2 separate regions of the Homo sapiens genome follow, and region 1 is linked to region 2. The links are contacts of gene promoters, found by promoter capture Hi-C in blood cells and fetal thymus (Javierre and others, 2016). All regions are on one chromosome and are shown on one strand. Each heading gives the region's core, a stretch centred on a gene start or on the middle of the fragment in contact. The rest is flanking DNA. Distances are from core to core; before and after follow the strand shown. Region 1 overlaps AHI1 (Abelson helper integration site 1). Region 2 holds the start of RPS12 (ribosomal protein S12).

Region 1 (6,215 bases), core at 747-3,246, 2.7 Mb before region 2:
TTGCTTGAACCCAGGAGGCGGAGGCAGCAGTGAGCTGAGATTGTGCCACTGCACTCCAACCTGGGCAACAGAGCGAGACTCTGTCTCCAAAAAAAAAAAATTAGAGATGATTTCTGTACTGTATTTGCTGTGTTATCATTACATAATATTAGTATTTATTAGTTTAGTTGTGTATTAAGCTGTTAATAGTAAATAAGTATATGATTTATATATTTTATTTGTAATTATTTACTTATTTTTAATACAATAATAATGGACATAAAGTAATTTTATTGCAATGTACTGATTACTTTGCTTTTTGGTATTTTCTCTTCTCCTTACAGTACTAAAATAGGTGCCATTTTAAATTCCCAGACAAGGAAAAACCAAGGATTAGAAATTAAGTAGCTTGCCCAAGGCCACACATCAGTAAGTGGTGACACTAGAGCTCAAGCCTGAGTCTTTTTTACTCGCTTTGCTTTTGCTTCTCTTCACTTCGCTTCTCTCTTCTTCTCCTCTCTTTTCTTTCATAGTGGCAGATACATAACTATAAGAGAGCATTGGCTTGGTCCTCCAAAGCTAGCAGTTTGGTGGGAGTTACAGAACATTTTACCAGGGTGAAAATTCAAGGTTGAGGTAGAGGGAGCTACAAAGATTAAGGCACCCTGGAAGCACAGAAGAGAAGTTCTTAAATGCCCTTCAAGGTGAGAATGCTCTCTAGAGAAGATATCATTTGCCTTTAAAGGATAGTGAGGAGTTTGTTAGAGAGACAAAGGAGGAAGCACATTTTTCAGGGGAGGGGATATGTGTGTAATGATACAAAAGCAAGAGAGAACTTGGCACACGTGAAGGCCTGCAGGTAGTTTCACATGTCTGGAACACAGTGGATGTGTGAAGGGGACATTTCATAAATGGCCTTGGACCTCACTGGTAAGGACTTGATATTTTTTTCAATGTGCGATTGGGAGCTAGTGAAGAATTTTAAGCGAAGAAACGACACCATCACATTTGAATTTTAGAAAATTACACTAGTTGCTGTGTAGATGATGATTTTTTTTTTAAGGGAAAGGTGATAGCGGCGTGGAAACAATCTTAAAACAAAAAGCATAATCCTTCCACAGTGTTTTTGTCCCTCAGAGTTACTGTCTCATGTCACTGCCTTTGGGGGTGATGGGAAGACAGTTGGAAGAATTCTGTAAAGAATTGTCTACATGTCCCTTCTACAGGTGTCACCTTCCATTCATTCCTTAGCCCCAGCCTGCTAAGTTTCTGCCCCTCTATAAACAGCTTTGACACACGTGACTTCCTACTTGCAGATTCAGTGGACTTTCTTCAAAACCTCCAGCCCCTTTTGATGCCACACAGTATATAGGCAACATCTCCTTTAAAACTTGGGTTTGCTTCTGTAATGCTTCTATCTCCCAGTTTTTCACCTATCTCCCTGATTTTACTTTATATTGTAGGCTCACAGGATTCTCATTGGCTTTTTATTTTCTTGGAACTATCATATTTATAAATAACTCCCAAATCTTCAGCCTATTGTCTCCCTGCTGGATTAGTAGATTGCCTAACAAACATAATATGATTATATACGTAAACACACACACACGTGACAGTAATAACAGTTGTTGTTTTTGAAGGGCTTGCCATGTGCTAGGCATTGTGCCTAGTATTTTATTTGCATATTCTCATTTAATCTTTATAAAAACACTGTGAGTGATTTACTCTTATTATTGTGAAAGATTAGGAAGTTGATATCCATAGAGGTGAATCTGCTGGCAGATAGAACTGGTATTTGGATCCAAGGATCTGAAAATGGAGCTGATGCTTGTAGCTGCTCAGTGCCCTTCAGATACCCAACTCAACATGACCCATACTAAGCTCAGTGACTGCACCCTAACAACCTGTTACAGTTATAGCTAACATTTATTGTTGCTTCTTCTGTCTACGGTACTGTTCTAAATCATTTAACCCTTACAACAACCCTTTGAGTCGGCACTGGTAGGGTGTTTTTATAGATGAGGAAACAAAAGTCACGCAAGTGACTATGGAAACTAATTCTAGGACATGGATTTTAAACTACTGCCCTGTACTGCATTATATTACAGTGTAATGATACTACTAATCTACTTATTCTAGTTCTAGAAACATGGGAATTATCTCCGATTCTTTCTCCTGCCTCTTCATTAGTTATTTAATCTTTCTAAAATATTACCTCACTCCATCACCTGGAGCGCACTGGTGCAGTCTTGGCTCCCTGCAACCTCCACATTTCAGGTTCAAGCGATTTTCCTGCCTCAGCCTCCCCAGTAGCTGGGATTACAGGCACCCACCACCACGCCTGACTAAGTTTTGTATTTTTGGTAGAGATGGGGTTTTACCATGTTGGCCAGACAGGACACAAACTCCTGACCTCAAGTGATCCACCCGCCTTATCCTTCCCAAGTATTGGGATTACAGACATGAGCCACGGCGCCCAGCAGGCTTTTTTTTGATGAATCATAGTCATAATATAGGTCAGCTTTTTCCTGGCCTATTAGATGACCATCGAGTAGTATAAATATTAAATTTTTATTTGTTTTATGATTTTTCTACTTCCGTGCTCTCAGGTTTCAATTACTCATGCTGTCATTGCACTTGCCTTTGCAGCTTCTCTTTTCTAATTTAATATAGACTAGAAAGTAGAAGACTAGATTTATTAAATTTATAACTGCTAGAAGGAGTAAATACAGGCTCCTATCACTAAAGTATAGGAATTTTTACTCCATGGATTTAGTGATGTCTGTTTTGACTGGGTGCCACGTAGTTGTTGCCTAAGTTAACTGACATAGTTAGGTATGTTTACATAATCATTCCTTTCTTTTTAGAATTTCTTAGACATTTCTGCAAGAGGAACATGAATGTGGATGTCCAGGGAATTGGAGCATTAACCAATAATGCCTTGGGCCCAGTGTGGTGGCTCACGCCTGTAATCCCAACACTTTGGGAGGCTGAGTCGGGCAGATCATATGAGGTCAGGAGTTCAAGACCAGCCTGGCCAACATGATGAAACCCTGTCTCTACTAAAAATACAAAAATTAGCTGGGTGTGGTGGCGCACACCTGTAATCCCAGCCACTCGGGAGGCTGAGGCAGGAGAATCGCTTGAACCTGGGAGGCGGAGGTTGCAGTGAGCCGAGATCACACCACTGCACTCGACAAAGGGAGACTCCATCTCAAAAACAAACAAATCAATAATTCCTGAACCAGCTTTTTTTTTAACACTCTTCAGTTTTAGTCTCAAAAACATGCATATTACATTCTAAATGTTCTAATGTGAGAATATGTTCATTTTAGACATACACCGATTTTTTTAATAAAATGGGCAATTTAGTAATATACATACTGAGTTGAACCATGGTTTTGAGTAGTTCTGACACAGTAATACACATCCAGGTTTTATTAAAGAAAGATGGTGCAAATATTTGTACTATCCTTCTCTATTGTAGCAGAATTTTCAGTGGCAGACACAGAGGTATTTAAATTCACTGTGAGTGTGCTACCCACAAGCATGCTTTAATGTAATATTGAATGCTCTTAGGAAAGTCAATCCTGAGATGGAGTTTGGTTTCTTAAAAGTGCGTTGAAATGTTCATTAATGTATTAAAACACTTTAAAAAGTTTATTAACATACCACATTAGATGTGCACTGCCTTCAAAATGTTTTTTTTGTTTCAAATATATAAATACTTTATTCAGATATGATCTAGTTTGTTTCCCTTGATTTTAGAGCCCTAAACTGATTCAAATGTACCCAAGTCATTTGCATAAGATTGGGTTAAGGGAACATAGCTTTATTGGTATAAACTTAATGAAGTAGTGGACATACAATGGCATGATCTTGTGTGAAGAACGTTTTATAATTTTTATTTGGAAGTTCCATATTACAAATACATCTCCTTTGTTTCGATAGGATCCTGATTGAGTCAATGCTTTGCATTCTCAGTCCTCTGCATAAAGCTGAGAGATGCCTACAGGTAAGACTTCTATGAAATTTATGTATAAAATTTATATTTTATACATTTACTTTTAAGTTTGGTTTATTTTAAGGGATTCTTGAACAGATTAATGAATACAGTAGATGTCATTGACCAAATATACTACATTTAGAGATACTTATTGGTTTTGTATTCAGTTTTCTATTTAATATTGTGATTAAGGTTAGTATGTATTTAATGGATGGTAGTTTGGGACTCAGATGGACAAGGTAAATAATGATTACAACATAGGGTTAGTTTTTATTCTTTATCATCAAAATTGAATGTTTTACTCCACCACAAGCATTGGCAATCTTTTCTAAAAGGGCTAGCTAGTAAATATTTTAGGCTTAGTCTCTGCTATAACTGCTCAACTCTGTCTCTCTGTCTCTTTTAAAGCATGAAAGCAGTTATAACAATTCTTAATCAAATGGGTATGTCTGATTTCAATAAATCTTTACAAAAACAAGTGACTAGCCTGCAGGCCATAGTTTGCCGACACTTGCTCTAGAGCACCCATTCATTCAGCATTTATTAATTTAAAACATAATGACTATGTACACTATGTCAGACCTCATAATAGTAGCTGGGGATGTAGTTATGGGGGAAACAGAAAATATGTTTCTTTATATAGATATAAAAATAATTATATAATTTCCATTTGGGTTGAGTGCTGTGAAGGAAGAGAACAACCTGCTATGTGAGAAAAGGGAAAATTAGATGAGTTTGTCAGGAGGTGTTTTATTTACAGGCAGCATTTAAACAGACAGGTTAACACCAGCCAGGTGAGGAATTAGAGGAAGCTTGCCTCAGAAACAGCTTCATGTGGGAAGGAGCTTGCTGTGACGGAGGAGCTAAAGGAAGGGTATTATAGCTAGAACATAGGCATCTAAGGGGATATTTGTCTTGATTTGAAGCCCTGGAGATAGATCAGGAGGTATGGAGCCCTGTAGGGCATATAAAAGACTTATTTTATCCTAAATGTATTGGGAAATTTTCAGGGGCTTAAGCATTATCTTCTTCATGTTTTAAAGGAAAAACCTGTTAATATTTGTGGAATACTGATTACAGGCTAGGCACACCTTAGCCATTTTTCATGCAAAATGATCTTTGGCATAAGATAATTGTGATTTTACAGATAAGGAAAATGAAGTTTAGAGATCTTGAGTAACTTGTCTAAAGCCACATAACACGTAACTAACAGTGGTAGATGCTACTGTTTATCAGAAATAAAAAGTTAACTTAGCAAAGGAGACTTTTAGAGTGAGTGGCCAAAAAGGTCAGAGGGATACAGGTGAATGTTGTGTCACTAAAGTCAAAATAAAAAATATTTTAAGAAGGAAAGATAGGTGAGTTTTTCTAATGTAGCTAGAGAACTCATGCCGATATTTACAAGAACTTATTTCTTAACATCCTAGTAGTGTAGGTTGTGTGTTATGATAGAGTCATTTACAAAATCACATGGCTGTATCTTTTGTAGCTGAGAGTGAAGCAAAAGTAAAAACCAAAGTTCGCTTTGAAGAATTGCTTAAGACCCACAGTGATCTAATGCGTGAAAAGAAAAAACTGAAGAAAAAACTTGTCAGGTCTGAAGAAAACATCTCAGTAAGTAAATGATCATTGGGTAATAGTGATTTACATATGCGCATAAAATGCAGATATGGCTGCATTTTATGTTAAAATTCTAAGGAATTTTGAAAATTAAAAACAGTAACACTATGTCATGGTCAATAACATGTGGTAAAAATAAAGTTTATATTAGAATCAACATCACTGTGAGAATATTGACTTCATTCTTGAGTGCTGTCCTACAGGAAGAACACACACACAGTGGGGAAAATGACCAGAGATAGTGGGGAAACTCAAAACTAGCCATGATAACATTTTTGAAGAAAATATTTTTAACCCAGAATTGTGAAGAACTTAGGAAGTAGTATCTTAACTTCAGATATTGAATAGCTTGTGCTTATTTAAACTATTTCTGTGTGATTCTACCCAACAGAACCAGGAGAAATCAATGGCCGTATGGTAATAATTATCCTTTTATGTTTGAGGCACACTTTCAAATGATAGAATCTTTGGCAGCACACTTGAAGGAATTAAAAATACAGTGCTCAAAGACTAAGCAAATCAGCAACTAACTACAACCTGATCCCCTTGGAATCATAAAGAGTCTGTATTGGCATCCACAGTTAATGCTCTATGCCCTCTTTATACCTAT
Region 2 (6,254 bases), core at 1,106-3,605:
TTAATAGACATTAACACTACCAAAATTAAATGAAACCCAAAAGGTGGCTGTAATCAGAAGGGTGACATGGCAGTTTCCTCATGGCAGTTCAGTAGAGGGAGCCAGTTGTCATCATGTACAGCACTAAGATCACCTACAAGCCTGCTACTAATCTTTGTTGTATACCAACGTCAAAATTAGGATTCAATTCTGCAGGTATAAAATGCTTCTACCTACAATCATCTTTAAAATGGCCGACAGTATCAGGTGCACGTAATGTTTACACCTGCACAAAATGAACAGCTTGAGACTTCACAGAATTTACCCCCATATACAAGCATCACTGAACATTAGTCCCAACACAATCCTTAGCAGCCTTACCTTAATTAGGTTGATTTGGTGTTCAGCACAAAGGGCCTCCACCAACTTGACATACATAGGCTCATCACAGTTGGATGCAAGCACACAAAGATGGGCTTGGCGCCTGAAATTCAAATTACAATGAAAATGGAGCTAAAACTCAGATCCAAATCCATCATTCTTGCATTTTAGGAGGGTTATCTTTGCACTAACACTTGCGAAACATAAGCAGCCAATCCACTGAACACATAAATGCGTACAAAATTGCTTGAGTCTGAAGAACCTGCTAGGGAGCATATACATCTTCAATTAACCTACAACTGGTCTTCAGTAAAACCTCTGTCCCTGACACACTGAATTGGTGTAAGTCATTTTTAAAACTTCTGGCCAAAACCCAACCATAATAGCTTTCTTGTAAGCCAGCTTCATATACCTAAAGAAACATGTGAAAGGCCGGGCACGATGGCTCACTCCTGTAATCCCAGCACTTTGGGAAGACGAGGGGGGCAGATGACCCGAGGTCAGGAGTACCAGACCAGCCAGAGACCAACATGGCGAAACCCCGTTTCTACTGAAAGTACAAAAACTAGCTGGGCATGGTGGCGTGTGCCTGTAATTCCATCTACTCGGGAGGCAGAAGAATCGCTTGAACCTGGTAGGTAGAGGTTGCAATGAGATCGCGCCACTGCACTCCAGCCTGGGGGACAGAGCAAGACTCTTTGTCTCAAAAAAAAAAAAGAAAAAAGAAAAAAAAAAGACTGTGGCATTAATGGAACAGTTATGAAATGCCATGCAATAATGCCGAAATAGAAATACAGAAGACTCATACTAGGACCTACTAAATACATTAAACAATAATGCCGTTTCCATCGGATTGAACTGGCTAGATTACACCAAAACGAACTTGTCCTGTAAAACCTTAAAACTGCATTTAAATTCAGCTCAAGAGTAGGTTGATTTGTCAATGCCACCACCCTAAAAAACACATTAACTCGATCCATTCAAATACATTAACAAATATCCCAAATTCAAATAAATCACAGCTATTATACTACTAAATTCATCTAGGACCAAATGCTTCTGAAACCTGAGTTTGAAATTCCATTAAATTAATGCTTGTTTTGCAAACTACCAGATGTAATGTGGCTCTCCATCTCATCTATCTGCCAGATAAGTATAAGACTGACTAGCTCCACAACCTACAGGTTTGTCAGACTCTTATGTTTCACTCATAAAAGGAGTGAAGGGGTATCCGACAATTAAAGTCATCATTCAAACACTGTAGTTTTGAGTGCTTATCCCCATTCCAAACAGCAACCCACACATTTTAAGTGGGCTTTATAGATCTGAGTTCTGATACCTTTTCCTAGGTTTCCGGTAGGACGGATGCCATTCAGAACTTTTGCGCTAACACCATGAACTCCATGCCTTCTTCCCTTGGGTGGCAGTTTTGTTCCGGTTGCAAGAACCCACAGTATTGAGACTGATACACGTACTTGTCTAAGGCTTTGGCAGCTTCGCGAATTCCACGTGCTAGGCCATCGTGGATGAGGGCAGTCTTCAGAACCTCTTGTAAAGCAGTATTAACGTCCATTACACCTCCAGCAGCAATGCTTAAACGCGACACATCAGAACCATCAGTTAAAATCCTCACACCACATAAGGCCTTGCACTCAGCAAAAGCTAAGTGTACAACAGACGCGCTTACGGCGACCCGTTTGACCCAGTCCTGTTCCGCCAGCTCTAGCCCCACGCCTCAGCCGCACCCCGACCCCAACTCCAACCCCGGCCCCTGGGCTCACCCTTCCTCGGCCATGGCGGTGGGTTACGGGTGAAGTTGAATCTTGAACGCACTAAAAAACAAAAGCATTGACTTGTTAAAGAACCAGATACTCGTCACGAATCCCAGCAAGAACGCAACGAGCCACAAATTATAACCAATACACCCCCCTGCCGCCTCGCTCAACTTACCCCAAGCCTCCGCCTCCGCGCGACTCGGCGGCGGCAGGGAAAGAGGCCTCATCCGCACGCATGCCGGTATTTAAGGGTTTTTCAGGTCCCCTGTGCGCATGTGCACTCCCACCCTCGAAAGAGGTGGCTCCCGCAGTGCCGGGCCTGGGGAGTTTCTGTTTCCGGATTGAGGCGGTTCTGAGGCAAACGTACTGCGAGTTTTCTATCTCTGCCAGGCCGGTCCTTGGCGAGTGCAACAGGCACTACGCGGGCAGCTTCGCGTTGTCCTTCTTTGCGGAGGCGTGGCCCACCGAGGCCCAGGGAACTCATTCTACGGAGCGCGACAGAAGCCAAACAAGTGTGTCCGCGTGTTCTTTAAGGCACCTAGAGCCCTGTATCCCGCCGAGCGCCAGTTTTAACCCTTTCCACACCACGTTCTACTTTCCTGTTGCTTCTACAAGACCCAGCCTCCCCAGGCAGCGCACTTTGTTCCTTCGCTTCTAAGTCACCCTGAGAGACCATGTTTGTGTCGTTGTGGGTGTGATCCTCATCTTTGTCTTCATGAAACGAGAGCCTACATGCTTTCACTCTTCCAGGCTGGAGTGCAATGGCGCGATCTCAGCTTACTGCGACCTCCGGCTCCCGGTTTCAAGCGATTCTCCTGCCTCAGCCTCCCGAGTAGCCGGGATTGCAGGCGCCTGCCACCACCCTGGCTAATTTTTTGTATTTTTAGTAAAGACGGGATTTCACCATGTTGGCCAGGCTGGTCTCGAACTCCTGACCTCAGGGGATCCACCCGCCTCGGCCTCCCAAAATGCTGGGATTAGAGGCGTGACCCGCCGCCCCCGGCCGCTTTCACTATTTCTAAGCCCTTTCCCTGCGGTGTGTTGGTAAAGCGGAACCCTGCAGCCAGGGGTCAATTCTAGTTTCTAAGTATAGCGGGAGTCGCTTCTGAACGAAGTTTGTTCTGCTTTGTTTGGTTTTTAACGACGCGTTGTGCTCGGAATACACAGTTCCGCGCAACTCAGAATTCCTCAGGTGCATTTTCAACACCTACAATGTGCCTGACGCAGGGCCAGGTCCTGGGACTACAGACATGAAATATCCAGTCTTTGAGGAGTCCATTTTCTTCCAGGAAGCAATATTTTAAATTTGGAAGTGATTGGCCATTCCCCAATCCCCACTTCCAAACCAAACGCACGAAACACTACTGAATATGATCAATACTGCCTTTGTGTTTAATTTCCTCTCCTGGGTAGTCAGCCGCCAAACCAGTGAGCAATTATTAGGCGCTTGGCACGTGCCAGCGCTGTGAATCCAGTGGGCAGATACTGTTAGACTGGTGAGTGCAGCGAAAAAAACAAAAATGGGTAACGCAGTAAGAGCACCAGGGAGTTCACCAGAACAGAGACCTGCTGTAATGTTAATAAACTGATAGAGTTCAGTTTACTGATAGAGTTCAGTTTTAGATTTTCCGCTGGTTTCAGTTTCATTTTTAAAGCGTTGAAGCTGCTTCTCTGTCAGTAACTCATGCAAATGTTTATTGAGCTTTTGATTTAAAAAAAAAAAAAAAACGAGGAATTTATAAAGATGATTCATTCCTGTAGCCCTGGTTTGTTTGTGGTGGGATTAAGATTTTAGACAAAAATCAGAATACCTCAGGGCCACAGAGGAGATACAAAGTGGCAGGGGGTTAGGGAGTGGGGATGGTGTGAAAAGGTAAGAGGACCTCAGGCTTCTGGCAGCATTCGAAACAGGCTCAAAACAAAAACTAAGAGATTCCAAATCGGTGAGCATGGAAGGAGAGGAGGGTATTCTAAATGGATGAAAGTGTAGGGGCAAAGGCATGAAATCCTTCTTGCCTTTTTTGGAGGTTATAATTAACACGTTTGTATTTTTGAAAGAGAATGTGGCAAATAGTCTTTCAGCGCATTTCTCATTATCTAAAGACAGTACAGTTGATATGCTAAGCATATTAGATTCCTTCCCCAAACAAATTTTTAAGGAAGAAGCAGGGAATTTGGGAAACCTAAGTGAAAACATTCACTGCCAAACAGCATATTTATGTGGGGGGAAAATGATCAAGTGCCTTGTTAGCTAAGGCAGTTGTTCCCAGTACCAACCAGCTCAGACTTGGTTTCTATCTTTCAGCAGCTGCTAATCTGTTCTATTGACTCAGACATCGTGGATCTCTGCTTTAATGTTTCACTGCACTAAAATGTCTTTTCACACAAACCTCCCTCCTTAGAGGGAGCTACATTTTTTTTTAAGTCCTACTTATATAACCTACTTATATAACTTATATAACCTACTTATATAAGTCCTACTTATATAACCAGTTCTAACCCCCAAAATGAAGTCAGGGGGCACACTGGTGATACAGGGGTTCTTTAATATAGATTCTCCTAGTTCACTTTTTTTTTTTTTTTTTTTTTTTGAGATGGAGTTTTGTTCTTGTAGCCAAGGCAGTGTCGGGATCTTGGCTCACTGCAACCTCCACCTCCCAGGTTCAAGCGATTCTCCTGCCTCAGTCCCAAGTAGCTGGAATTACAGGTGCCCACCACTATGCCCAGCTAAGTTTTGTATTTTTAGTAGAAATGGGAGTTTCACCATGTTGGCCAGGCTAGTCTGGAACACCTGACCTTGGTTGATCCGCCCACCTTGGACTCCCGAAGTGCTGGGATTACAGGTGTGAGCCACTGCGCCCAGCCTCCTAGTTCACATTTTTAAGGTTACCTCCTCTCAATTTCAGAGACTGGTAAAGGTGGAAGACAATACTACATAGAGGATAGTGGTTGGTCACTCATACCAGCAGAGTATAACACATGTGCACAAATATGAGTCTGACACACATATGAAAACTAAATGTATTCTGAAGTTTGTTTTAGGAACAATACTGATAATAACAGGCAATTTGTTTCACTTTTTCTATATGCCAGATAAAGCGCTAAATTCTTTCAGGCATTTTTCCCCTTTATTGTTATGGAGACCCTATCTGGTAGTGATGGTATTAGCCCACTTTAACAGGTCAGGAAGCCAAGGCTTAGGTAGCCCAAGATCACACAGCTAATAAATGTGGAAGCTGGTATTTAAGCTCAGTGGACTTCAAAGCCTGTGCTCCTAACCCTTCGGTCATTTGAATGATTGCCAGAATGTGGAAAGGAGATTGCCGAGAATTCAAGAATGACTCTCTACGTCTCTGGTTTGGCAATAGTACAGCTAGTTCTATCCCACTGTGCTAAAAACTATATAGATGGAGGAAGGGAATATTGCTGTTAGGCAGAAAAATTTGCATTTGGATTTAGAAATTTGGATTTCTGAATTATCTAAGTGTAGATGTGTAGTTTGCTAGGGCTGCCATAGCAAAGTACCACAAACTGGGTGGCTTAACCAACAGAAATCTATTATAATGCTGAAGGCTGGAAGTCTGAAGTCAAGGTGTTGGGAGTGTTGGTTCCTTCTGAGGGTGTGAGGAAGAATCCATTTCACACATCTTTCCTAGCTTCTGGAGGTTTGTTGGCAATCTTGGTGTTCCTTGACTTGTGTTAGCATAACTCCAATCTTCGCATGATGTTGTCCCTATGTGCATGTCTGATTTTGTGTCTGAATGTTTCCTTTTTATAAGAATATCAGCCATATTGGATTAGGGGCTCACCTGCTCCAGTAAAACCTCATCTTAACTAATTACGTCTACAACAAACCTGTTCCAAATCAGGTCTTGTTCTGAAGTGGAAGGGGTTAGGATTTCAACATGTGAATTTTGAGGGAACACAGTTCAACTCATAACAGATGACAAGGAGGAGATACAGAATGATCAAATGAAAGAAAGCATCTTTGAGATGAACTGCAAAAAAACTTACTTTGAAGACCAGAGCTGGAGACAAAAACCGGGCTGAGGCATAATAATGATTTTATATCTTGGAGTGGTCAGGAGGACCCAACTGTGCAGGGTTAAAATTCCAGCT

Evidence for each region. The method cuts DNA at HindIII sites, captures the fragments that hold promoters and counts their contacts. A CHiCAGO score of 5 or more calls a contact.
Region 1: a contact is called between a fragment that was not itself captured here and the fragment with the promoter of RPS12 in region 2, in 1 of 17 cell types (non-activated CD4 T cells). The highest score is 5.9, in non-activated CD4 T cells.

What each region holds. Positions count from the first base shown.
Region 1 is chr6:135,490,007-135,496,221 of GRCh38, reverse strand. AHI1 (Abelson helper integration site 1) reads left to right here. Exons shown (of 29, transcript NM_001134831.2): 3 at 324-408; 4 at 3,931-3,994; 5 at 5,475-5,599. The coding sequence starts at 3,985. Among named protein-coding and RNA genes, the nearest start is that of AHI1, 4.6 kb to the left of the region's middle. The HindIII fragment of the contact is 5,606 bases long and covers 1-4,799 here.
Region 2 is chr6:132,810,670-132,816,923 of GRCh38, reverse strand. RPS12 (ribosomal protein S12) reads right to left here and starts at 2,355. Exons shown (of 6, transcript NM_001016.4): 1 at 2,311-2,355; 2 at 2,142-2,192; 3 at 1,836-1,952; 4 at 361-463. The coding sequence starts at 2,155. It overlaps SNORD101 (small nucleolar RNA, C/D box 101), which reads right to left and starts at 1,617; the gene lies at 1,545-1,617. It overlaps LOC107986644 (a long non-coding RNA gene), which reads left to right and starts at 2,636. Exons shown (of 3, transcript XR_001744345.3): 1 at 2,636-3,631. It overlaps SNORD100 (small nucleolar RNA, C/D box 100), which reads right to left and starts at 122; the gene lies at 47-122. RefSeq lists enhancers at 1,890-2,019, 2,450-2,729, 2,644-3,390, 3,820-3,889. The HindIII fragment of the contact is 13,401 bases long and covers 1-6,254 here.